Regions from separate parts of the Homo sapiens genome. Here all the other regions are linked to region 1. The links are contacts of gene promoters, found by promoter capture Hi-C in human tissues and cell types (Jung and others, 2019). All regions are on one chromosome and are shown on one strand. The core of a region is centred on a gene start or on the middle of the fragment in contact, and the rest is flanking DNA. Distances in the headings are between cores, read along the strand shown.

Region 1 (5,893 bases), core at 1,365-3,864:
GGTGTAGGGCAGATTCCCTATAAATAGATTCTGAGATGGAGAATTGCATACAAGGTAATTACTGGGTAGTGTTCTCTAGAAAAAATGCCTGTACAGGAGTGATATAAGGATAACTGGACAGAGTAATAGGTTTAAATGCTGTATGACTGCAACAGAGGCCTCAGTTGGTCTCACAGGGAACTCTTAAGCCAAGATGGCCCTTTATAGAGGCTGCAAGTTGAAGACAGGGGGCCAGGTCTTTGAGGCCTGCACTGAGCAGTCTTTGGATATGGACTTCCCCCGGGGAGAAGACGTGACTTGTGAGAGGCAGCCCCCTGCAGTTAGGACAACTCCCAAGGAAGTATTTTGCTGTGAGCCATCAGCAGCCACTCACCCGGCAGCTGCTGGGATGGATGCCTCAACCCTGAAGGAGGATCCTGGCAGCACCACAGTGTGCACTATAGGGCGTATTAAGTTTCCAGCTTTGGTTGTTGGTTTATGTTTTCCTCCCTACAGGTATGTCAGCTATTGCTTTGTATGTTTTGAGGCCTTAGTGTTAGGGACATGCTGTATATTTATGATAAATATATCTTTTCCATCAAGCACTCTTATTTATTCCCTTTTAATCTTCTCAAATTCTAGCTTATCAGATATTAGAATTATTACTTGTATCAGTCAGGGTTCAATCAAAAAAGCGGAACCAGTAGATATTTAAGATACTTGTGGCAAAGAGTTGGCTTACTCGATTGAGGGGGTGACCAGGTGAGTCCAAAGTCCATAAGAGCACCCCATCAGGAAGGGCAGGCTGGAAGCTGTGGTACGCTGATGGAGTTTCTTCTCCATCAGGGAAACTTCGGTTCTTTTTTGAAAGCTTTTAACTGATTGAATCAGGCCCACCCAAATTATCTAGGATAATCTCCCATGCTACTTAGTCCAACTGGGTTTATGGGCTTCAATCTCATCTACAAAATGCCTTTACAGCAACACCTAGATTCGTGTTTACTTAAATAGCAAGAGACTGTAGCCTAGCCAAGTTGACACATCAAAAGACCATCACACTCCCCAAGTTTGTTTTTTTTTTTTTTTGAGATGGAGTCTTGCTCGTGTCGCCCAGGCTGGAGTACATGGAGTGCAGTGGCAAAATCTCAGCTCATTGCAACCTCCGCTTCCCAGGTTCAAGTGATTCTCCTGCCTCAGCCTCTTGAGTAGCTGGGATTACAGGCGTGCGCCACCACACCAGGCTAATTTTTGTTCTTTTAGTAGAGACGGAGTTTCACCATGTTGGCCAGGCTGGTCTCAAACTCCTGACCTCAGGTGATCTACCTGCCTGGGCCTCCCAAAGTGCTGGAATTACAGGCGTGAGCCACCGCGCCCGGTCCAACTTTCTTTTTGTTAAAATTTTCCTGGTGTGGTGATATTAAGAGTCTTTGACAGTCCTCCTCCACCCTCACAGGATTCTGCCTCCATTTGATTCTCTGTAGGCTTGTGATTGCTTTGACCAAGAGTCTGACAGAATTGGTGTTAGGTGACTTCCAAGGCCATGTTATAATTGGCCATGGCGCTTCTCTCTTGTTCACTGGAATGCTCACTCTTGGAGCCCAGAGCCACCATGTAACAAGTCCAGCTGCCCTCAGTCCTTTATGCTGGAGAGACCACATTGAGGCACTCTGGTCAAACACAAGCCGAGTTCATCTTTTAGCCCATCTCCTCCCAAGCAGTAGACATGTGAGTGGAAAAGCCATCTTGGAAGCGGGCCCTCCCAGCCATCAAATCATCCCAACAGAGGCTACAGACATAATGAGGCAAAGGCCCACCCACTCAGTTCCCCTTTCAAATTCCTCACCATGAAATTTATGAGCATAATACGGTGATTGTCCTTCAAAACCACTAAGTTTTGGGGTGGTTTGTTAATAGAACAGTAGATAACGGGAACACCTTGAATATGTTTTTCTATGCTTTTATTTTTCCAGTGTTTTATGTATTTTTGTTTTGTGTCTCTTAGAAATAACAGCTACTCGGGAGGCTGAACCCAGGAAGTTCAAGTGAGAATCACTTGAACACAGGAGAATCACTTGAACCCAGGAGGCGGAGGTTGCAGTGAGCCGAGCTCGCACCATTGCACTCCAGCCTGGGCGACAGAGCGAGACTCCGTCTCAAAAGAAAAAAAAGAAAGAAAGAAAGAACATGGGTTTTTTTCCCCCAATCTGAGAGTCTCAGAATCAAATTCCTGAGGAGGAAGTGAAAACCTTTCACAGTTAGTATGTATGCACAGTAAAGCCCGAAACCGCACATTAAGTCTTTCTGCCTTTAGACCCACATCTTCCCTGCCCATTCTTCCTCTAGGAAATCTGGCGCCCAGTTTTCTCTGCGTAGTTGGCGCGGGGCTTCAACTCCCGGCGCTCCTCCAGCTACTGGCACCTCCCTGGCCTCCAAGACGTCTACCAGACCTGCGTCTGCCCGGGGAAACTTTGAAGTTCCCTTCGGAACCTCGCAGGCTGACAAGCAAGTCAGAGCGATGGGTGGAGGAGGTTGCCATGGAGACAGGTCCAGGGCCAGAGGCGCGGGAGGGGGAGGCGGCAGCTTGGGCTCCGATTGGCTCTGCGGGCGCGCAGCGTTCCTCTGGCGCACATGCGCAGTGACGCCGAGGCGAGGTCGCGGCTAAGCAGAGGCGCCGGGGTTTCTGGGCCGGGCTTCTCAGGACCGGGCTGGAACGTGCAGCTCCTGGCCGGGACACTCTGTGCTTTGCGGGGAAGGGAAGTGGCGGAGCCCGAGGATCCGCTGCCGCTCGGGACTGAGCCCGCCACGCAGGCGCCTGTGCCAGCGTCGCCATTGTTGCCTGTGGCCTTAGGGCCGCTCCGGCTGCCCGTCGGCCGGGTCCCAGCGACAGGTATTGATGTCCGGGCGCAGCGCGCGAGTGTCCGCGCGATCAGTGACAGCCCGAGCCCGTCCACGCGCGGGCTCCCGTGCTCGTGGCTTGCGGGAGGGCAAAGACGGGGTGGAGGCTGCTGTGGGCCCAGTCCCAGCGTTGCGCGTCGCACGGTCCCCGACTCCCCCGCTGCCCTCGACCTCGACCCTGCGGCTGAAGAGGAGTAAGAGGCAGAGGGACTTGGCCGGGAAGGGGAGGCGACAGGAGGCAAGGCAAGGCTGTCGCATCACCTCCGCAGGGCCTTGTAAACAGTTGTCTTTGGTGGCACGACTGTGCCTCAGCAGGGCTCGGAGCTGGAGCCTGGGGAGAGGTGGTGTCGGTTCTCCTCCAGATCAGGCCGGTTCTAAGGTTTCCTTCGAGAATCCTGGTTTCGAATATATCCCTAAAGAACTGTCTCCTATAGAAGCACTTAAAGGACTTGAAGTCACACCAACCTCTTCACTCTTTTCCAGTCCAACCCGCTGGTCTTCCCAACCCTCTGATAGTGAAAGGCTAGAATCGGCTGGCATTAACATGCAACGCAGATAAATGGCTCGCCCTTTCCCCTGACAGTTCCCTTGGGAACCTTGAGCACTGTATTAAGAAGAAATTCTCCTAGTTTCTTCCAAGTAACAGATTCACTTTGTTATTGTTGAGAGTCCGTTCAGTCATTACAGCTTCTGTAACATCAGTGACTAAAATAATGAAACTATTTTCTCTATAAAAATGTTTAATTTTTGTTACAACAGGTTAGAGGTTTAATCTGTTGTTTGGCTTAGATTCGAGTCATTGCCTCTGACACTACCTTTTTAATAGCAGCTCCATCCCCCACCAACCCCAAGCAGATGGCAGTTCCCTTACAAGTCTAAGGATATAGGGGAGGAAGACAAGGTAAAGCTTATGTGTGTTCATCTATGCACACTGCGAGTCTGTTTCTGTGTGTGTATATGTATAGTAGAGTACACCAGGGATTCTTGACCTTGTGGTCCATGCTTGTGTTTCAGGGTCTCTTATCCATCCCTGCAAGTTCTGGGCTCAGAATTTGTCACTAAGGCTGCTAACTCTACCTTGATTCTGTTCTGCCCTCGGCTGCAGCAGCCTTTGATATAGTGTCCTTGTGACTCTAGCATGAGACTTCAAGCAGTTGGCTCACTACTGGAGAAATAAAGGATATTGCCAGATTGACTCTCCTGTCTGTAGCAATGTTAGCCTCAAGCAAGAGGATGAACAGTTCTTCACGTTCTCAAATCCTTCTAAGGTGGAAGTCAGACAAGGCTCAGAGTGGACCCTACAATGTTGAGAAGGAAATCCTTACTTCAAGATTCTTGCGTGACACTGAGACCTGTCGACAGAATTTTAGGAATTTTCCATACCCAGACCTGGCTGGTCCTCGAAAGGCATTGAGTCAACTCCGAGAGCTCTGCCTTAAGTGGCTGAGACCTGAGATTCACTCAAAGGAACAAATTTTGGAGCTGCTGGTGCTGGAGCAATTCCTGACCATCCTGCCTGGTGAGGTTAGGACTTGGGTAAAGTCCCAGTATCCAGAGAGCAGCGAGGAAGCAGTGACTCTGGTGGAGGATTTGACTCAGATTCTAGAAGAGGAAGGTGAGAATCATAGAGCAGAGAGGGGAGGAATCCCTGGGTGGTTAAAGAAGACAACTAGCACATCTGAGCAGCTCCTTTAAAGAAATCAGGGAGAGCACTGAGAGGTCCAGGATGCATTTTTTAAAAAGAAAGAAACTGGGGAGAACAAAGGTTAGTGAGTGAGAACAAGGCTTTAACATGAGCTCCATCCTGCATGGTGTTCTCCTTCCAGATTGCTTGGGAGCAAACACACATTATCTAAACCCCCAAGAAAAACGTCTTGAAATAATGACCAGACGCAACCAAATTACCACTGTGTGAGCCCTCAGAAAGTACCTTCAGAGGTTTGCACCATTCTACTAATAAATCATTTGCTTTGTGAATTGAATTTTACAATAAAATACTTCCAAAAAAGGAAGAAAGGGTCTAGAGAACATTCCCTTATTAAGAGATAACTCACAAAATTAATATCACATAAGGATTTAGTTAAAATGTGAATTTTGTTCATACTCTTTAAGATTTTTAGAGCGAGCTTGTTTTTGAAGTCTGTTTTGATGTCTTAGGACAAGTCATTGGCCCTTTCCTCTGATGCTTTGAAGTAGGAGTGCTGTTTTTGATTTCCTTCTTACTTCTCGATTTAAGAAAGTGTAGGCATCTATTTGGTGAGGGGTTTCCTAGGCTATTCAGAAAGGACTAATCTCCCTCATGACCTCTTTCTCTTCTCTAGCTCCTCAAAACTCTACCCTTTCCCAAGATACCCCAGAGGAAGACCCCAGAGGAAAACATGCTTTCCAGACAGGATGGCTAAATGACTTGGTGACCAAAGTGAGTGTGACTGTCTTTTCTGATTTTAAAATGCCTTCTTAGTGTGTGAGGACATTTTCTGACCTGGCCCTATAACTACTGTGCCCCCAGAAGCTCTATCAAGGACTTAAGCCCCAGTTTCTCTCCTATGTTATCTTGGTCTGTTAAGGTAGGTGAATGTACTATAAAGAAAAGGTGCTTCCATTGCCTTCCCTTGATATGTCTTTCCTTACTTTGACTTTGTCAGCAATATCACATAGAGAATACGAGATTGACCTCCACAGCCAGATGGATTTAGGTTTTGTTTCCCGGCTCTACCATTGGAACTGCAATTTGGGACAAGATACTTAACCTCTCTTAGCCTGAGTTATTCTACTCTCATAAATAGAATTTACCTCTTAGGTTGTGAGTATTAAATATTATGAGACTTGTAGTTAGCCTGGATTACAGTTAAGCAATTAATAGATGATTGTTACTATTATTTTTCCTCATTAACAAGTAGTTAAAGGCCATGCATTCTGTCATATTACTGTTGGTCATGAATTTATATATATTTTTTGAGACAGAGTCGCACTCTGTTGCCCAGGCTGGAGTGCAGTGGTGCGATCTTGGTCCACGGCA
Region 2 (5,893 bases), core at 1,575-4,074, 58 kb before region 1:
CTGGATCTCTTGATCTCAGGTGATCCACCCACCTCGGCCTCCCAAAGCGCTGGGATTACAAGCAATAGCCACCACGCACAGCCTCTTCTCTTTTTTTTTTCTAAAAATATCTTCATTTGGCCTTCATTTTGGGAGGATATTTTTGGTAAGTTTGAAATTTTAGATTGGCAGTTATATTCTTTCAACATTTCAAAGGTATCATTTATTGTTTTCTGTCTTATGTACAATCTGTGGAGAAGTGAACCATCTGTCTAAACTTTTCTATAAAAGGCAGGGCAGCAATATTTTTGGCTTTGTTGGATCATAAGGACTCTCTGCTGTGACTACTCCACTCTGCCATTGTAGCACCAAGGAATCCATAGGCAACATATTAACCAAGTAATGTGGTTGTGCTCCACTAAAACTTCACTTATGGACTCTGAAATTTGAATTTCATACATTTTTAATGTCTCACATTCTTTTAATATATTTTTCAACCATTTTAAATGTAAAAATTGGCCAGGCGTGGTGACTCATGCTTGTAATCCCAGCACTTTGGTAGGCCAAGGCAGGCACTGGAGGCCAGGAGTTTGAGACCAGCCTGGGCAACATGGTGAAACCCCGTCTCTACTAAAAATACAAATTTTAGCTAGGCATGGTGGCACTGGCCTGTAATCCCAGCTACTCGGAAGGCAGAGGCACAAGAATCACTTGAACCCAGGAGGCGGAGGTTGCAATGAGCTGAGATTGCCCACTGCACTCCAGCCTGGGTAACAGAGTGAGACTCGGTCTCAAAATAAGTAAGTAAGTAAGTAAATAAATAAATAAAAATAAATATAAAAATCATTCTTATCTTGCTGGCTATACAGAAACAGATGATGGGCCAAATTGGTTATAATTTGTAACCTCTGATCTAATTGTTGCTCATTAAAGGACATCTATCTGTCTTTGGCCAGGTGTTGGGAGGCTGAGGTGGGTGGATCATTTGGGGTCAGGCGTTCAAGACCAGCATGGGAAACATGGCAAAACCCCATCTCTACTAAAAATACAAAAATTAGCCGGGCGTTGTGGCACAGACTTGTAATCCAATCCACTGCACTCCAGCCTGGGTGACAGAGCAAGACACTGTTTAAAAAAAAAAAGAGAGAGAGACAGATTTTTTTTTTTTTTTTTTTTTTTTTGAGATGGAGTCTCGCTCTGTCGCCCAGGCTGGAGTGCAGTGACGTGATCTCGGCTCACTGCAACCTCTGCCTCCTGGTTTCAGGTAATTCTCCTGCCTCAGCCTCCTGAGTAGCTGCGACTACAGGCACCTGCCACCACGCTCAGCTAATTTTTGTATTTTTAGTAGAGATGGGGTCTCGCCACATTGGCCAGGCTGGTCTCGAACTCTGACCTCAGGGGATCTGCCCATCTTGGCTTCCCAAAGTGCTGGGATTACAGGTGTGAGCCACTGTGCCCTTCCCTGTCTCTCTTTTTTTGGCTGCTTTTAAGAGTTTAGTTTTCAACGGTTTTACTACTGTGTACTTTAATATAGTTTTCTTCATATTTCTCATGCTGAAGATTCATTTGGCTTCTAAGACTTGTGACTTGATTTTTTTTTTTTATCTCTTGTGGAAAATTCTAAGACATTATTTCTTTGACTTAGCTTCTGTCCATTCTCTCTCACTTCTCTTTGTAACCTTCTAGGACTCTGGTTACATCTGTGATAGACCTTTTCACCCTATCCTGGATGTCTCTTCTGCTTTTCTAACGTTTGCAAGTTTTTCATCATTTTGTGTTTCAGTATGGATACTTTGTACTGACCTATCTTCCATTTCCCTAACTCTCTCATGTGCTGTCTCTATTGTGCTCTTAGCCCATAGTTTGAGTTAAGTTACTATATTTATTTTTCAGTTCTAGAATTTTCATTTGGTTATTTTATACTTTACAAATCTTTGTGAGATTGTTAATCTTATGTTCTTGAATATAGTTATCCTAGTTATTTTAAAGTTTATGTCTGAGGCCTCAATTATTTGGATTCATTTTAGATCTGTTTCTGTATATTTGTTTTCTCTCTTGATTTTTTTCCCATGTGACTTTTGATTTTTGTCTCCCTTTTTTTTGGGGTCGGGGGAGGCAGACAGAGTCTCGCTCTTTTACCCAGGCTGGAGTGCAGTGGCGCAATCTCAGTTCACTGCAACCTCCACCTCCCAAGTTCAAGTGATTCTCCTGCTTCAGCCTCCTGAGTAGCTGGGACTACAGGCATGCACCACCATGCCTGGCCAATTTTTTTGTATTTTTTAGTAGAGATGGGGTTTTGCCATGTTGCCCAGTCTGGTCTCGAACTCCTGGCCTCAGGTGATCTGCCCTTGTTGGCCTTTCAAAGTGCTGGGATTACAAGATGTGAGCCACTATGCCCAGCGTGGTCTCCTTTTATGCCTGTTATTTTTTACTGGGTATCAGGCATTGACTATGAAAATCTATAGTAATATTAGGAGGTTCTAGATTATGTAATCTTTCCCACAGAGGATTAATGTTTGCTTTTGCCAGACTGCTAGGCTAGGGACTATAACAATCTTCATTCACTTTAATTCAATGAGAAATTTAAATGAGGTGGGTTTTAGTCCTTCAGCCAGCCGATCTATTTCTTAGTCGTTCTATTTGTAGGGCTTATCACCTTAAGGTTCCAGCCAAACCCTAGTTGTTCCAGAATTGTCCTCCTTAATGGACCTAAATCCGTCTCTGTCTTTCTTGCCCTATGACTTTATTAAGAGTTCTGCTTACTTATTCAGCCTCTCAGTCATTTCTTAGAGAATTAACAGGCATTTGAAGGGGAAAATGGCACCAAATACCAGGATTGTTTTTCTGGGTTTCATTCTTCTCCTTGTAATTTGTTAAGTCTTTCTAGCTTTCAGATGCTTTCAAACAGACTGTTCTTTTGTCCAACATTTCAAATTGTTCTCAGCAATAAAGTTGGTCCAAATGACTTCCTCTGACATCCCCAAAGTGCAGACCTCTCAAATATAAAAGTTTTTATTCTGTTTTTTATGCTTGTTGTCTGGGAGTAACATTTTACTTTCACTCAAGAAAGATGAGAATTTAGTGCATATAAATTAAGTTTCTACAAATAAATTTATTGAAGAAAATTTCTAATTACTAATATAACAACAACCTTTATGTACTCTAAGCTTTTATAATTTTAGTGCATTTTGCAGCAAATTTTTCTGCTTTCCAACTTCATATTCTTTTGACCTTTTAAATTTAATATTAGTTTCTGAATTCCAAATTGGTGCTATAGATATGTTTTATATAGCTTTTCTTCTTCTTTTTTATTTATTTATTTATTTGAGATGGAGTCTCTCTTGTCTCCCAGGCTGAGTGCAGTGGCGTGATCTCGGCTCACTGCAACCTCCGCCTCCTGGGTTCAAGCAATTCTTCTGCCTCAGCCTCCCGAGTAGCTGGGATTATAAGCGTGTGCCACCACACCCAGCTAATTTTTGTGTTTAGTTGAGACGGGGTTTCACCATGTTGGCCAGGCTGGTCTAGAACTGCTGATGTCAGGTAATCCGCCCACCTTGGCCTCCCAGACTGCTAGGATTACAGGCGTGAGCCACTGTGCCCGGCCTTCATTTATTTATTTATTTATTTGAGACAGGGTTTCACTTTGTCACCCAGGCTGTAGTGCAGTGATGCAATCATAGCTCACTGCAGCCTCAACTTCCTGGGCTCAGGGGATCCTCCAGCTTCAGCCTTCCAAGTATTTAGTACTACAAGTGTGTGCCACTATGCCCAGCTCATTTTTAATTTTTTATAGAGATGGGGTCTCACTGTGTTGCCCAAGCTGGTCTTAAACTCCTGGGCTCAAGCAGTCTTCCTGTCTCATCCTCCCAAAGTGCTGGGATTATAGGCATGAGCCACCACACCCAGCCTTATAGCTTTTTTTCTGAGAGCAAACTTTTTTTTTTATCAGATACTGGCAATATAATATCCTATGACAGCAAAAAATATGCTCAAACTAATTAAAACTATTTAAAAGTAAAAGAATGATAAATAGCAACAGCATGACAAAATATTAATTTAAATTTTATAAAAGTAAAATAACATAGACAAATCATACTGCTTAAAAGTGGGTTTTAAAATCATAAAATTGGCTGGGCACAGTGGCTCACGCCTGAAACCCCAGCACTTTGGAAGGCCGAGGAGGGTGGATCACTTGAGGCCAGGAGATGGAGACCAGCCTGGCCAACATAGCAAAATGCTTTCTCTACTAAAAATAAGAAAAATTAGCTGGATGTGGTGGCGCATGCCTGTAATCCCAACTACTTCGGAAGCTGAAGCACAAGAATCACTTGAACCCAGGAGGTGGAGGTTGCAGTGAGCTGAGATTGTGCCACTGTACTCCAGCCTGAGCAACAGAGCGAGACACTGCCTCAAAAATTAAAAAAAAAAAAAAATCATAAAACCATTCTATCATGGACAAGAGTTTTTATTGAACTTATATTTAAATATTGAGGCATAATTACCTGAAAATGAATTACAAGTTTTAAAAGGCATTAAAGTGTCTTAAAAATAAAATATTAAATTGCATACACAAACACATTGTAAGACCAGTATCCCACAGTGTAATTTTTTTAATGAATTTTTGACAAACTGTCAGAAATGTTCTTAGGGCCATAAAAAAGTTGCAAAATCTACCCTTAATTAAACAATAATTACCACTATTTGAAATATCAGTAAGTATAAATATTAACTTTTGACTAGTTTGTTGTTCAGTTCTTTTTGAAAATCAAAGTTTTTTTTCCATAAAAGTTTTATTAAAAGGTATGTACAAAGACTTGAATAAACTACTCTGCCAGTGAATTTGAGAAAGCCCTCACAACAAAGCTAGTCAATCAAAAATGAGAACAAATAGAGGCCAGGCATGGCATGGTGGCTCAGGCCTGTAATCCCAGCACTTTGGGAGGCTGAGGTGGGTGGATCACCTGAGGTCAGAAGTTCAAGACCAGCCTGGCCAACATGGCGAAACCCCGTCTCTACTAAAAATACAAAAATGAGCCGGGCGTGGTGGCACATGACTGTAGTCCCGGCTACTCGGAAGGCTGAGACAAGAGAATTGCTTGAACCCAGGAGGTGGAGGTTGCAGTGAGCCGAGATCATGCCACTGCACTCTAGCCTGGGTGGCACAGCAAGTATCTGTCTCCAAAACAAAACAAAACAAATAGAAAGTGTGATTGGGGACTAAAGTCTGGTTTGTGGAGTAAATAGAAAGCAAGGAAGTATGACAGTTTTTGAGATTGTCAAAAGTTGAAGAATACCATCTAAAATAGTTGGCTCTAAACTATGAATGGGCTTTTTTTTTTTTTTTGAGACAGTCGTGCTCTGTCACCCAGGGTAGAATGCAGTGGCACAATCTTGGCTCACTGCAACCTCCACCTCCTAGAATCAAGCAGTCCTCCCACCTCAGCCTCACAAATAACTGGGACTACAGGTGCACACCACCATGCCTGGCTAATTTTTTTTTTTTTTTTTTTTTTTTTTTTTTTTTTGTAGAGACAGGGTTTTGCTATATTGCCCAGACTGGTCTCGAACTCCTAAGCTCAAGCAATTCTCTCACCTTGGCCTCCCAAAGTGCTGAGATTATAGGCATGAGCCACTGTGCCCAGCTGAATGGACTTTTTTAACGGGAAAGTTTCATTGAATTTGCTACTTTAGTTTTTGCTAAACCAGCCTCCCTTAACCCTACCTTCTTCTCACTAAAAAACAAGTCAGTGTGAAAGCAATTAAAACCATATATTCATTATCCATGTATTTATTGCTTTTATTATTCTGTTTAGTGAGATTGCCCCAGCTTAGGAAAGGAATTACTTGATTTTTCTCTTTTTTGCCCCAGACATGGAGCCCAAACCTGCAACCAAGAAGGCTACACGAACAAAGG
Region 3 (5,893 bases), core at 2,389-4,888, 59 kb after region 1:
TGCCCAAGAGAGTGGCTCAAGAGAGTGAACCGAGCCCCTGCCAATAAATAAATATTTGTAGAATGAAGGAAAAACCCCTGGAAGGTGAGACTATGAGCACCATCTCCAAAGAGCGATCACTGCCGTATCATTTTATGCCTTTCCAATCTCGTACCGGGAATCCCCATCTTCCAAGTTGTCACTGAAATGACTAAAAGAGTATGAAAGTAGAGGGTGATTACACTAGACATAGAAGAAAACGGCCGCTCAGGCCTCAGAGACCTCAAGGAACTTCTGCGAGGCATGGCGGAAATAAGAGTAGATTCAAAGAAGTGCCTGCAGACCTTTAAGTCACCATGTGCAGAGAAAAGTGGAAAACCTCAGCAAAACCCCAGCAACACCCTGAGCATTGGCAAAAGGCATATTCTGTTACACACATCACAAGCAGGGGCATGCCAACCACTGTGCCAGGTACGGAGGCACTGCAAGAACCAAGACAGATGGAACCTGGCCCTCAGGGAGCTTAATTCTGGTAGGAAAGGTGGACAGTAAACAAGTAAACAAATCAAGCAAGGAATCACAGAGTATGATAAGTATGATGAATGAAATAAATGGCCGGGCGCAGTGGCTCACGCCTGTAATCCCAGCACTTTGGGAGGCCGAGGTGTGTGGATCACCTGAGGTCCAGAGTTTGAGACCAGCCTGACCAACATGGAGAAACCCCTTCTCTACTAAAAATACAAAATTAGCCAGGCGTGGTGGCGCATGCCTATAATCCCAGCTACTTGGGAAGCTGAGGCAGGAGAATGGCTTGAACCCGGGAGGCGGAGGTTGCTATGAGCCAAGATCATGCCATTGCACTCCAGCCTGGGCAACAAGAGTGAAACTCCATCTCAAAAAAAAAAAAAAGAAAGAAAGAAACTAGGATGGGCCAGGCACGGTGGCTCACGCCTGTAATCCCAACACTTTGGGAGGCTGAGGCGGGTGGATCACCTGAGGTCAGGAGTTCAAGACCAGCCTGGCCAACATAGTGAAATCCCGTCTCTACTAAGAATATACAAAAATTAGCTGGACATGGTGGCACGCATCTGTAATCCCAGCTACTTGGGAGGCTGAGAGAGAAGGACCCCTTGAATCCATGAGGCGGGAGTTGCAGTGAGCTGAGATTGCGCCACTGCACTCCAGCCTGGGTGACACAGCAAGACTCCATCTCAAAAAAATAAAAGAAACAAACTAGCATTAGCCAATAGAAACTGGACAGGGACTAGTTAAGATGTATGGCAGTCAGTTTATCTTGCTGAAATTTTTCCAGCTTGAGTTACATGACAGATCTCATGTATCATCATGTTGTAGGATCTATCACATTTTGCACAGTTAGAATTTTCTCCTGTCACGTTTTGGACAGCCACCACTGCCAATGTAGGAGTGGTGGGGGAGGGGTTGTTGGAAAAAAATTCTGTAATTTGCTCCCTGAGGCTACACTTTGATTCCCTGGGTCAAAGTAGCAGGGATGGGAGGCAAAGATGAGCCAGCAGAAGTGGAAGGGGACAGTGACCATATCCCAATGTCACAGAGTACATGCAAGAAACAATGTACAGCCATTTTTTATGCCCATTCCTTATTTCTCCTGATAATACAGCCTGCTCCAGGCACAGCAGGGATGCTCAACCCAAGTCCCTCCCAGAATTTTCAAGTGAGAGACAGGGAGGACGCTTCCTCTTTGGCCCAGCAGCTGTGAGGATATGAGCTTAGAGATCATGATGCTTTTTCCCTGCTGTGTGAAGAGGCTTAACTGCACAAAGAGAGAATGAAGCCAACACACCCAGAGCAGTGGGGATAAGAGGTGGAGAAAATGCGCCCTGCTGGTCCAGCTGTCCCTGCGGCCAGCTGCACCCCATCACTTCCTGTGCTTTGGTTCTCTGAGCCTCTTCCCTTTTCTGCCTAAACTGCTTTCAGGTGAGTTTCTGCAATTTGCAACTGTATTAGGGTTCTCCAGAGGAAAAGAACCAACAGGATGCGTGTGTGTGTGTGTGTGTGTGTGTGTGTGTGTGTGTGTGTGTGTGTAGAGAAAGAGAGAGACAGAGACAGAGAGAGATTTATTGTAAGGAATTGGCCTGTGCAATTATGGAGGCTGAAACTTCCCAAGATCTGCAGTCAGCAAGTTGAAGACCCAGGAGTATACATTCCAGTCTGAAAGCCACAGGCTCAAGACCCAAGAAGAGCAGATGTTTCTGTTTGAGACCAAAGACAGAAAAAGACCAATGTCCTGGTCCCCACAGTCAGGCAGGAAGGGGTTTCCTATTACTCAGCCTTTGTGTTCTACCCAGGCCTTCAACTGATGGGATGCAGCTCACCCACATTAGAGAGAACAATCAGCCTCACTCAGTCTACAGATTCAAATTCTGACCTCGTCCAGAAACACCTTCACAGACACAGCAGAATAATGTTTGACCAGATATCTGGGCATCTAGTGGCCCAGTTGAGCTGACAGATAAAATGGACCATCGGAGTAGCCTAAGTGTCTAATCGTGATGACGTAGCTGAAATCACACAGAGTGGGGATCATATCACAACCTACTCCTGAAGTCAAGGCTGTACTAAACAAAGCAAGGGCCCCTTGATGGCAGGCTTGAACTTGCGCTGCTCCTACCATTTAGCAGAGGGGACCCAAGCTAACCTCAGGGGCAAAGATCCCTGCCATGTTTGCCTCATTCAGAGCTCTCTCTGCTTCCTAAGGCTCCTAGCATCAAAATAGGCTCTTGGGGATTGGCTGTTTACTGGCTAGGGTGAGCTAAGCTGCTGTGACAAGTAGACCTAAAGATGTAAATTGGCTCAAACACAGGAGTTTATTTCTCACTCACATAAGCGACTGCAGCATGTGTTTTCAGCCGATGGGCAGCTCTCTGCCATAGGGCGATGCAGGGATCCAGGCTCCCATCATGGCTCTCCCATACAGCCTAGTTGTCATCTACATCTTGCCAGCAGAAGGGAAAAGGGAATTCTCAGAAGCCTTGGCCAGAGTGGCACACATCACTTTAGGTCTTGTTCCATTGGTGGGAGCTACTGAAATGGCCACACTAAACTGCAAAGAAGGCTGGAAAATGTAATCTGGTCTTGCATCTTGTTATAACTTCCATCACTACAAAAGGGGAACATGATTGGGGTGGGCAGAAAAGTCTGCTTTCTGAGAGAACTAAATGGCTGGCACTGGGGCATTTGGATTCTAGTTCTAGACCAGGATTTCTTAATCTTGACACCATTGGTATTTTAGACTGGAAAATTCTTTTCGCGGAGAGGAGGCCGTCCGGGCATTGTAGGATGTTTAGCAACATCCCTGGCCTCTACCCACCTGATGCCAGTAGCTCCCTCAACCCCAGTCATGACAATGGAAAATGTCTCTAAACATTGCCACATGACCTTTGGACACAAAATCACCCGCCATTGTTCTAGACAACAAGAGGAATGGTCAGAATCTTCTGTCAACCGGAGAGGAAATGTAATGAAGTGGCATGCTCACACTTCCTCTCTGTCACTTGGAAAGTGTGGCTACTAGTTTTTGCTCACAACATTGACAGAATAGCTGAGATGCTGACTTGAAGTTTCAGAGAGAACTGAGTGATAATGACTTCGAGCCCTCAGACTCTTTAGTGAGAGAGTAATGCCATGAGAATAATGCCCAGGGATTCTGCAAATGCTCATCACAGCCAGAACAGCACGAAAGGAAATGCCCTGTTAAGTTTCTTCACTTCACGCCGCACAAAAGTCAGAACAGGCCAGGTGCAGTGGCTTGTACCTGTAATCCCAACACTTAGGGAAGCCAAGACAGGAGGATGGCTTGAGTGCAGGAGTTCGAGACCAGCCTGGGCAACGTGGTGAGACCCTGTCTGTACAAAAATTTTTTTAAATTAGCTGGGTATTCGCCGGGTGTGGTGGCTCACACCTGTAATGCCAGCACTTTGGGAGGCCGAGGCGAGTGGACCACCTCAGGTCAGGAGTTCGAGACCAGCCTGGCCAACATGATGAAACCCCATTTCACTAAAAATACAAAAATTAGCTGGGCATGATGGCACGTGCCTGTAGTCCCAGCTGCTCCGGAGGCTGAGGCAGGAGAATTGCTTGAACCCAGGAGGCGGAGGTTGTAGTGAGCTGAGATCGCACCACTGCACTCCAGCCTGGGTGACAGAGTGAGACTCTGTCTCAAAAAAAAAAAAATTAGCTGGGTATGGTGGCATGTCCCTATAGTCTCAGCTACTCAGGAGGCTGAAGAAGGGGAATCACTTGAGCCCAGGAATTTGAGGCTGCAGTGAGCCATGATTGCGCCACTGCACTCCAGCATGGGTGACAGAGCAAGAACTTGTCTCAAAAAAAAAAAAAAAAAAGGCAAACTCATACTAGCTTTTCTGCAATGAACAGACTTTCTGAGTTATTTGTGTGGATTCTCTGAAACGTCTGTGAGAGACAAGATTTTTTGATACTTGCCTAACACAAGACGATGTTTGTAAACACTTGTAAAGTTCTTGTTATTTCTGAACATTGTGAGCTATAGAGTAGACAGACCCCTAGGAAAGATATTTCTTTGCAGGAAATGGACTGCCCTATTATAACAAGTGAAAATTCTTTGCAGCCTGGCGAAAACCAGAAATAATACCATCCAGCAAAGCTTCAGGATGCTTTACCTCCTGGAAACCCAGCCGTATTGTTCTAACTTCATAGGAAACTGATTTTCTGGCTGTAGCTGATGGGGATTACTTCGTGTTCCATGGGGATCTTTGGGACAAGCTGTAGTCTCAGACAATGAACTGTGGGTTTCTGTGTCACTGCCAGCATAAAATATTAGTCTCCTGATTCACGGAGAATATGCTAGACTCTTGAACATTAAGTAAAGACAGTTACATAAGTATTTTTTATTAGAAAGCTACTTGCGAGAGATAAACTACAAGGTCATAATCAATAAGGCTCAATTTGAAACACTGCTGAGAAAAGAGAATAGAGACTTTTTTTTGCTGCTGGAGTTGCAGACTTATGTCAGACTGAGATTTGTGTGCAAATATCTAAGTATTCATACTCCTCTGGCTGAGTGCAGTGGCTCAGGCCTATAATCCTAACACATTGGGAGGCCAAGGTGGGAGGATCCTTTGGGGCCAGGAGTTCAAGACCAGCCTGGGCAAAATAGCGAGACTCTCTCTCTACTAAAAAATACAAAATTAGCCAAGTGTGTTGGCATACACTGTAGTTCCAGATGCTCAGTAGGCTGAGTTGGGAGGATCCCTTGAATCCAGGAGTTCAAGGCTGCAGTGAGCTATGATCATGCCACTGCACTCCAGCCTGGGCAACAGAGTAAGACCCTATCTCAAAAAAAAGAAAAAAAAGAAAAGGTACTCTTTCTGATTATGAGCAATTTGGGTCAGAACAAGCATTTGATATTTCACAAACCCATGTCCATCATTCTCTCCAAACAGGCCTGAAAACACTAGACTTTTAGGCTTTTTGCCAGTTTCTACATAGTCTGGAAGCAAGAATGAATAAATCGGATAAGTAATCTTGCATTGCCGAGTGATGGTTCTAACTTCAAGGCGATCCTGTCACCCTCCTGCTCAGAATCTGTCCTATAGGCCATTCCCATGGCCTACAGGGAGTGTCCAGCACCTCACCCAGCCAGAGACTGACTCTCTGTAGTCTGGCCTCTGCTTCCTTCTCTACCCTATCCGCTGCTGGCCCAGGCTTCCTCTGTCACCTCGAGCCCCAAAGAACCAAGTGCAGAGCCATGAACACACCACGACATGTCAGGCCCCTGCATTGCTCAAACTTCTCCCTCCCTAACCCCCGAAGCTTGGTGACTACTTGTTCAGGCTTCAGAAATCAGGTCACATGTTACATTTTCCAGAAAGGCTTCCTGACTCGCACTGTAGCCTGC
Region 4 (5,893 bases), core at 1,069-3,568, 37 kb after region 1:
AACAATACACACATTTTTAAAAATTTCAGAACAATTATAATAGTACCACCACCATTATTATGGAAAAGTTTAAGATTTTTTAAAAATTATTTTTGTCCTTAGAGTATACCCTACTAGAGATGTACAGTCAAGTCAATGAAACTTAAAGTAACTTGGAATAATTTTTCTCTGGGTGTTATAACACCAACTCCACAGTGTAGTAGACCATATGATGGCCCCCAAAGATATCCAGGTCCTAATCCTTAGAACTTGTGAATGTTACTTTATAATGTCAGAATGGATTTTAGGTGTGCATAATTAGGGATCTTGAGATGGGGAGGTTATCCTGTTTTTCCTGGGGAGCTCTGTATGAAATTACAAATGCCTTATAAGAGACAGGCAGAAGAAAATTTAACAGGGGAGAAGATGATAATGTGACCACAGAGGCACATATTGGAGTGATGCAGTCATTAACCAAGAAATGCCAGTAATCAGAAACCGGAAGAGGCAAGGAATGGATTTTACCCTAGAGCCTTTGGAGGGAGCATGGCCCTGACAACATTTTGATTTTGGCCCAGTGAAACTGATTGCAGATTTCTTGCCTCCCAAACTGAGAAAGTGTTCCAAGACACCAAGTTTGTGGTGCTTTGTACAGTGGCCACAAGAAACTAATACACACAAGTTCCTTTGTTTCATTGTACTTTCAAGGTTTATGGATTGTTTTTTCTTTAATATATTTTGGTTTTAAAACTAGGAAAAGTTTTTTATGCTATCAAAGTAGAATCCACAAAACAAAGTACATTAGAGAAACCCAACTTCTATTCCTATGCCCTCTACCCAGTTCACTCCCTCTCCTGTAGCTAATCACTTTTAAATTTTATGGTTTATTCTTCCACTTTTTAGCATAAACAAATGTGTACATATATATTTCTATCCCTTCCATTCTCTCTTAAACTGTAGCATACTATTCACGCATCCATCCATCTTGTTTTTCCCACATAAAAATAAATCCTAAGGATCACAGAGATATTTCTCATTCCTTTTTACAGTTGCATATTACTATATTGTTTGGTTGTTCTACAGTGTATCCAAGCAGTCCTTTAATGACAAACATTTGGAGAATTTCCAAAAGGTGGAAAATAAGGAGAGAGAAAGAAACATAGATAAGGTGGGACAAATAGAAAACAAATAGCAAGAAGGTAGACTTAAACCCAAACACATTTGTAATTATATTAAACATAAATGGATAAATAAGAGAAGATCAAAGACTGTCAGACTGAATTTTTTAAAACTTACTTTGTTTATAAAAGATGCATTGTAAATTTCAGGGCACAAAAAGTAGAAAGTGAAAGCATGGAGAAAAGGTATACCACACAAACCCTAATCGAAAGTTAATGTTGCTATATTAATATCATGCAAAATACATTTTAAGGCAAGAAGCATTACTAGAAATGAAGAATAATATGATACAAGCATTAATCCACTAGATAATCATAACTGCACCTTTAAAATGTACCCAATAACTTAATCTCAAAATATATAAAGCAGAAACTGTCAGAATTGAAAGGAAAAGTAAATCCTGAATCATAATATGATAACATACCTCTGTCAGTAACTGGTAAAATAAACAGATTTAAAAAATCAGTAAAAGTATACACAGTTTAAAGAATGTGATTAGGGCAGGCATGGTGGCTCACATCTGTAATCCCAGCACTTTGGGAGGCCAAGGTGGGAGGGTCCCTTGAGGCCAGGAGTTCATGACCAGCCTGGGTAACACAGCAAGACCCCATATCTACAAAAAAAAAATAGAAAAATAAAAATTAGCTGAGTATGCAGGCCTACACTTGTAGTCCTAGCTACTTGAAAGGCTGAGGCAGGAGAATCCCTTGAGCCAGGAGTTTGAGGCTGCAGTGAGCCATGATCACACCACTGCACTCCAGCCTGGGTCTTGCACAGGGTCTTGCTCTATTGCCGAGGCTAGAGGGCAGTGGCACGATCTCGGCTCACTGCAACCTCCACCTCCTGGGTTTGAGCAATTCTTCTGCCTCAGCCTCCAGAGTAACTGAGACTACAGGTGCCCGCCACCACACACAGCTAATTTTTGTATTTTTATTAGAGATGGGTTTCCATATTGGCCAGGCTGGTCTCAATCTCCTGACCTCATGATCTGCCCGCCTTGGCCTCCCAAAGTACTGGGATTATAGGCGTGAGCCACCTCTCCCAGCCCAGTCATGGGTTCTTAGTTTCTGTTTCTGGTTGGGCCAGTAAAGCCCCTTCCTCATTCTTTTCCGCTTATCACTAGAGACAGAAACTAAAAACCGTGGCTTCAGGCTGCTAAAAGCCTAAAACAAAATAAAACAAAACAGAACAACACAACAACAAAATCAAATGGGTTGGACAAGCTTGCCAGATGTCCTCAGAATGCAGCACTCTTTTTGCTTGTTTGTTTTTTGAGATGGAGTCTTGCTCTGTCGCCCAGGCTGGAGTGCAGTGGCGCAATCTCAGCTCACTGCAACCTCCACCTCCCGGATTCAAGCGATTCTCCTGCCTCAGCCTCCCCAGTAGCTGGGACTACAGGTTCATGCCACCACGCCCAGCTAATTTTTTGTATTTTTAGTAGAGACAGGGTTTCACCATGTTTCAATCTCCTGACCTCATGATCCGCCCACCTCGGCCTCCCAAAGCGTTGTGATTACAGGCGTGAGCCACTGCGCCCGGCCGGAATGCAGCGCTCTTTACTTGGAGATAATGCCAATGAACAGGCTTAGGTTGAAGGATTATAATGGTCATGTAAAATCGATAATGCCTATAGCCCCTACCTTTAGTGAGTACGTAGGCACGTCCCAAGTTTAGTCATAGCTCCTTGTAGTTTCTTTTTATTTTTGAGACAGAGTCTTGCTCTGTTGCCCAGGCTGGAGTGCAGTGGCATGATCTCGGCTCACTGCAACTTCCATCTCCCAGGTTCAAGCGATTCAACTGCCTCAGCCTCCGGAGTAGCTGGGACTACAGGCTCACGCCACCACACCCGGCTATATTGTTGTATTTTTAGTAGAAATGGAGTTTCACCATGTTGCCCAGCCTGGTCTCGAACTCCTGACCTCAGGTGATCCGCCTTGGTCTCCCAAAGTGCTGGGATTACAGGTGTGAGCCACTGCGCCTGGCTTCCTTGAAGTTTCTTACAAGTAGAAGCACTAACAAAGGACGATGCATTCCTCCTCCTGCTTTCTGAGGATGCCCTACTCTGTAACAGGGTAGTTTCCAATAAACTTGCTTCTTTCACCGTGCTCTGTGATTCACTCTGAATTCTTTCCTACGTGAAATCCAAGAACCTGCTCTTGGGGTCTGGATCGGGACCCTCTTTTCTGGCAACAGGAACATGTGCACTCAGGACAGAGCTCTCCCAGGGGTAAAAGGATTTGAATATTATGAGTTCTCGAGCAAGTAGCTGACGTACTGGTGGTGGTGAGAGGAGATGTCTGGGGTGAATGTTCCAGAGGTAGAGGTGCTGGTGCTGGTGAGGCATGGGGATGCCAGTGTGTGTGTGTGTGTGTGTGTGTGTGTGTGGGGGTGGGTGGGGGGCGGGGGGTGGAGATAAGAGGTTCAAAGAACAGCAGGGCAAGTGGAACTATCATCCTGTGGACATTGACTTCATGGAGCATGAAGCTAAGGCTTGGGGTTTGTGAACAAAAGTCTCTAGAAGATAAGTGGGAAGCAGAGTGACCGGTGGGTTTGTGAGCAACAATAACAAGGTGCGCATGAAGCTGCGTCTTGGGTGCCATGAGGTTTAAAGGAAAATAAGCCAATCATTTTCATGTTGAACTTGGCTTAAACTTTCTCATCATTTTCTGTGCTCCGGGGATTCCTCTTATGTACATCATAGAAATGGCAGCTCGAAGGAGTAATAAAATATTTATGATGTACAATGAATGTAGATATTTGCAGCTTTTCATGTTTCAGATATTTAAACTTGTAAGAAAATTAAGGGAATGTTTAAAATGAAATTTTCAGCTGGGCGCGGTGGCTCACGCCTGTAATCCCAGCACCTTGGGAGGCCAAGGCTGGTGGATCATGAGGTCAAGAGATCAAGACCATCCTGGTTAACACAGTGAAATCCTGAAATCCCGTCTCTACTAAAAATACAAAAAATTAGCCAAGCGTGGTGGTGGGTGCCTGTAGTCCCAGCTACTTGGGAGGCTGAGGCAGGAGAATGGCGTGAACCTGGGAGGCGGAGCTTGCAGTGAGCCGAGATCGTGCCACTCCACTCCAGCCTGGGCGACAGGGCGAGATTCCATCTCAAAAAAATTAAAAAATGCAATTTTTGTATTTTTCAATGGCTTCATGCTGGAGAATTGAAATAAAATTGAGTAGTTCACTGTTTATCCAATCACACTTCATCTAAGAGAAAAGCACATCTGTAAGTCTGTAAAAATCTTTTTACCAAGTATAAGGCATTCTGAGAAAATCTCTTGTTATGGCTAGAAAAAGTAAAAGCAAATAAAAATCAGCAATGTTCAAAAAGAGCAGCTTTGTTGGTCTTTTCCATCAAGTGGGTAAAGATTTGACAGCTCTAATGCATGCTGCTGATAATTTGTAAAAGAGAATAGGGAGTACAATTAACTTGATTTGGATTTGGAAATTTGATTCAGTCTCATTTCCAGAGTTTCTGAATATTAACTCCAGTAGAAAAGTCCAGCCCCAGGAACAAAGCACCTTCTAGTTTCTCTAACTTCCCTGGTGGCAATTCCAGCCGGCCCTCAGGGCTGCGGAAATTGCAATGAGACCGTAATGCAGTCACAATGGACCTGTGTGATCAGGAATGTTGTAGCTTTGGCCAGGCTGTCAGCCAGATGTAACAAGACAAATTTAAACACAGTGTCCCTCTGCGCAGCCCCCCACCTTCCCAGATGCATCTAAACCTGGACCTCTCACATTTGGTTAATTCCAGAAGTCAGCTCTTCTCTCTTCTGTTACAGCTGAAGGTCCCCAAGAAGAGAAAAAATACAATTTTCACTTTTTGCCATGTTGGCCAGGCTAGTCTCAAACTCCTGGCCTCAAGTGATCCACCCGCCTCGGCCTCCCAAAGTGCTGGGATTACAGGCGTGAGCCACAATGCCTGACCAAGAAAGAGATTTTCATTAGATACCAAAAATAGCAGGCTGGCTTATTTTATGATGTCTAATATCCTTAATCAAATGTAAAATGTTTTTAAAACATGATAGATACAATTAAAATCCCCTATGAACCTCTCCTGCCTGAATCTCATTCCCTTGTCTTTTTCTGTACGTGTAACCACTTTTTAAATGTCTTTACACTTTTATATGTGCATGTATATACAAATAATATGTGAAATTTCACCTGTTAAGTAAAAAATGAAAATTTAAAAACTTTAAGTACCAGATTGTGCATTTCTTTCTGCAATTTGTCTTATCTCGTCTTTTTCAGATTTATCCATGTGGATTCCTATAGCTCCTGTTTATTCACTGTAACTACTGGAAAGAAGTCTATTGTAGGTGTTGTTTTATATACTTTGCCCATCTTTCTATTGAGTCTTCTTTTTCATATTGAATTTGTTAAGGAAAAAATAATTCAACGACACTTGCTAAAGCACAGTAAGGAAGACTTTATTCAGGACCATGTGGATGGGCATAGGGACCGCTCAACGGGGTCTTGGAGTGGGTGAGAGACAGAGATTGGGCTCAACTCTGAATACTGCCTGGGCAAGTGGGAGTTTATAACCAAGGAGCAGGGTGGCAGTCAGTGGGTGGAAAATTACTAAAAGGAAACATTACAGGTAAGGAGTATTCAGGCTAAACACACCTAACGGGACTCTGGCTGAAGACAGTCCAGGGTGACCCAACATTACCTGGGAGATGGTGGAGAGTGAGGAATCTGATCAGATATCCAGGTGATCAGA

Evidence for each region. The method cuts DNA at HindIII sites, captures the fragments that hold promoters and counts their contacts. A contact is called where the count stands out against the background at its distance.
Region 2: a contact is called between a fragment that was not itself captured here and the fragment with the promoter of ZNF287 in region 1, in 1 of the 25 tissues and cell types used here (mesenchymal stem cells).
Region 3: a fragment that was not itself captured here is called in contact with the fragment with the promoter of ZNF287 in region 1 in 2 of the 25 tissues and cell types used here (lymphoblastoid cells and mesenchymal stem cells).
Region 4: a fragment that was not itself captured here is called in contact with the fragment with the promoter of ZNF287 in region 1 in 1 of the 25 tissues and cell types used here (dorsolateral prefrontal cortex).

The regions. Positions count from the first base shown.
Region 1 is chr17:16,565,925-16,571,817 of GRCh38, reverse strand. ZNF287 (zinc finger protein 287) reads left to right here and starts at 2,614. Exons shown (of 6, transcript NM_020653.4): 1 at 2,614-2,866; 2 at 3,889-4,489; 3 at 5,196-5,293. The coding sequence starts at 4,087. RefSeq lists enhancers at 2,550-3,049, 3,050-3,551. The HindIII fragment of the contact is 5,740 bases long and covers 1-4,994 here.
Region 2 is chr17:16,624,465-16,630,357 of GRCh38, reverse strand. It overlaps ZNF624 (zinc finger protein 624), which reads left to right. Exons shown (of 6, transcript NM_020787.4): 6 at 5,849-5,893. Among named protein-coding and RNA genes, the nearest start is that of ZNF624, 26 kb to the left of the region's middle. The HindIII fragment of the contact is 4,157 bases long and covers 746-4,902 here.
Region 3 is chr17:16,508,119-16,514,011 of GRCh38, reverse strand. No RefSeq gene overlaps it. Among named protein-coding and RNA genes, the nearest start is that of LRRC75A, 19 kb to the right of the region's middle. The HindIII fragment of the contact is 7,643 bases long and covers 1-5,893 here.
Region 4 is chr17:16,528,996-16,534,888 of GRCh38, reverse strand. LOC124903940 (a long non-coding RNA gene) reads right to left here. Exons shown (of 2, transcript XR_007065646.1): 2 at 5,580-5,893. Among named protein-coding and RNA genes, the nearest start is that of ZNF287, 37 kb to the left of the region's middle. The HindIII fragment of the contact is 8,307 bases long and covers 1-5,893 here.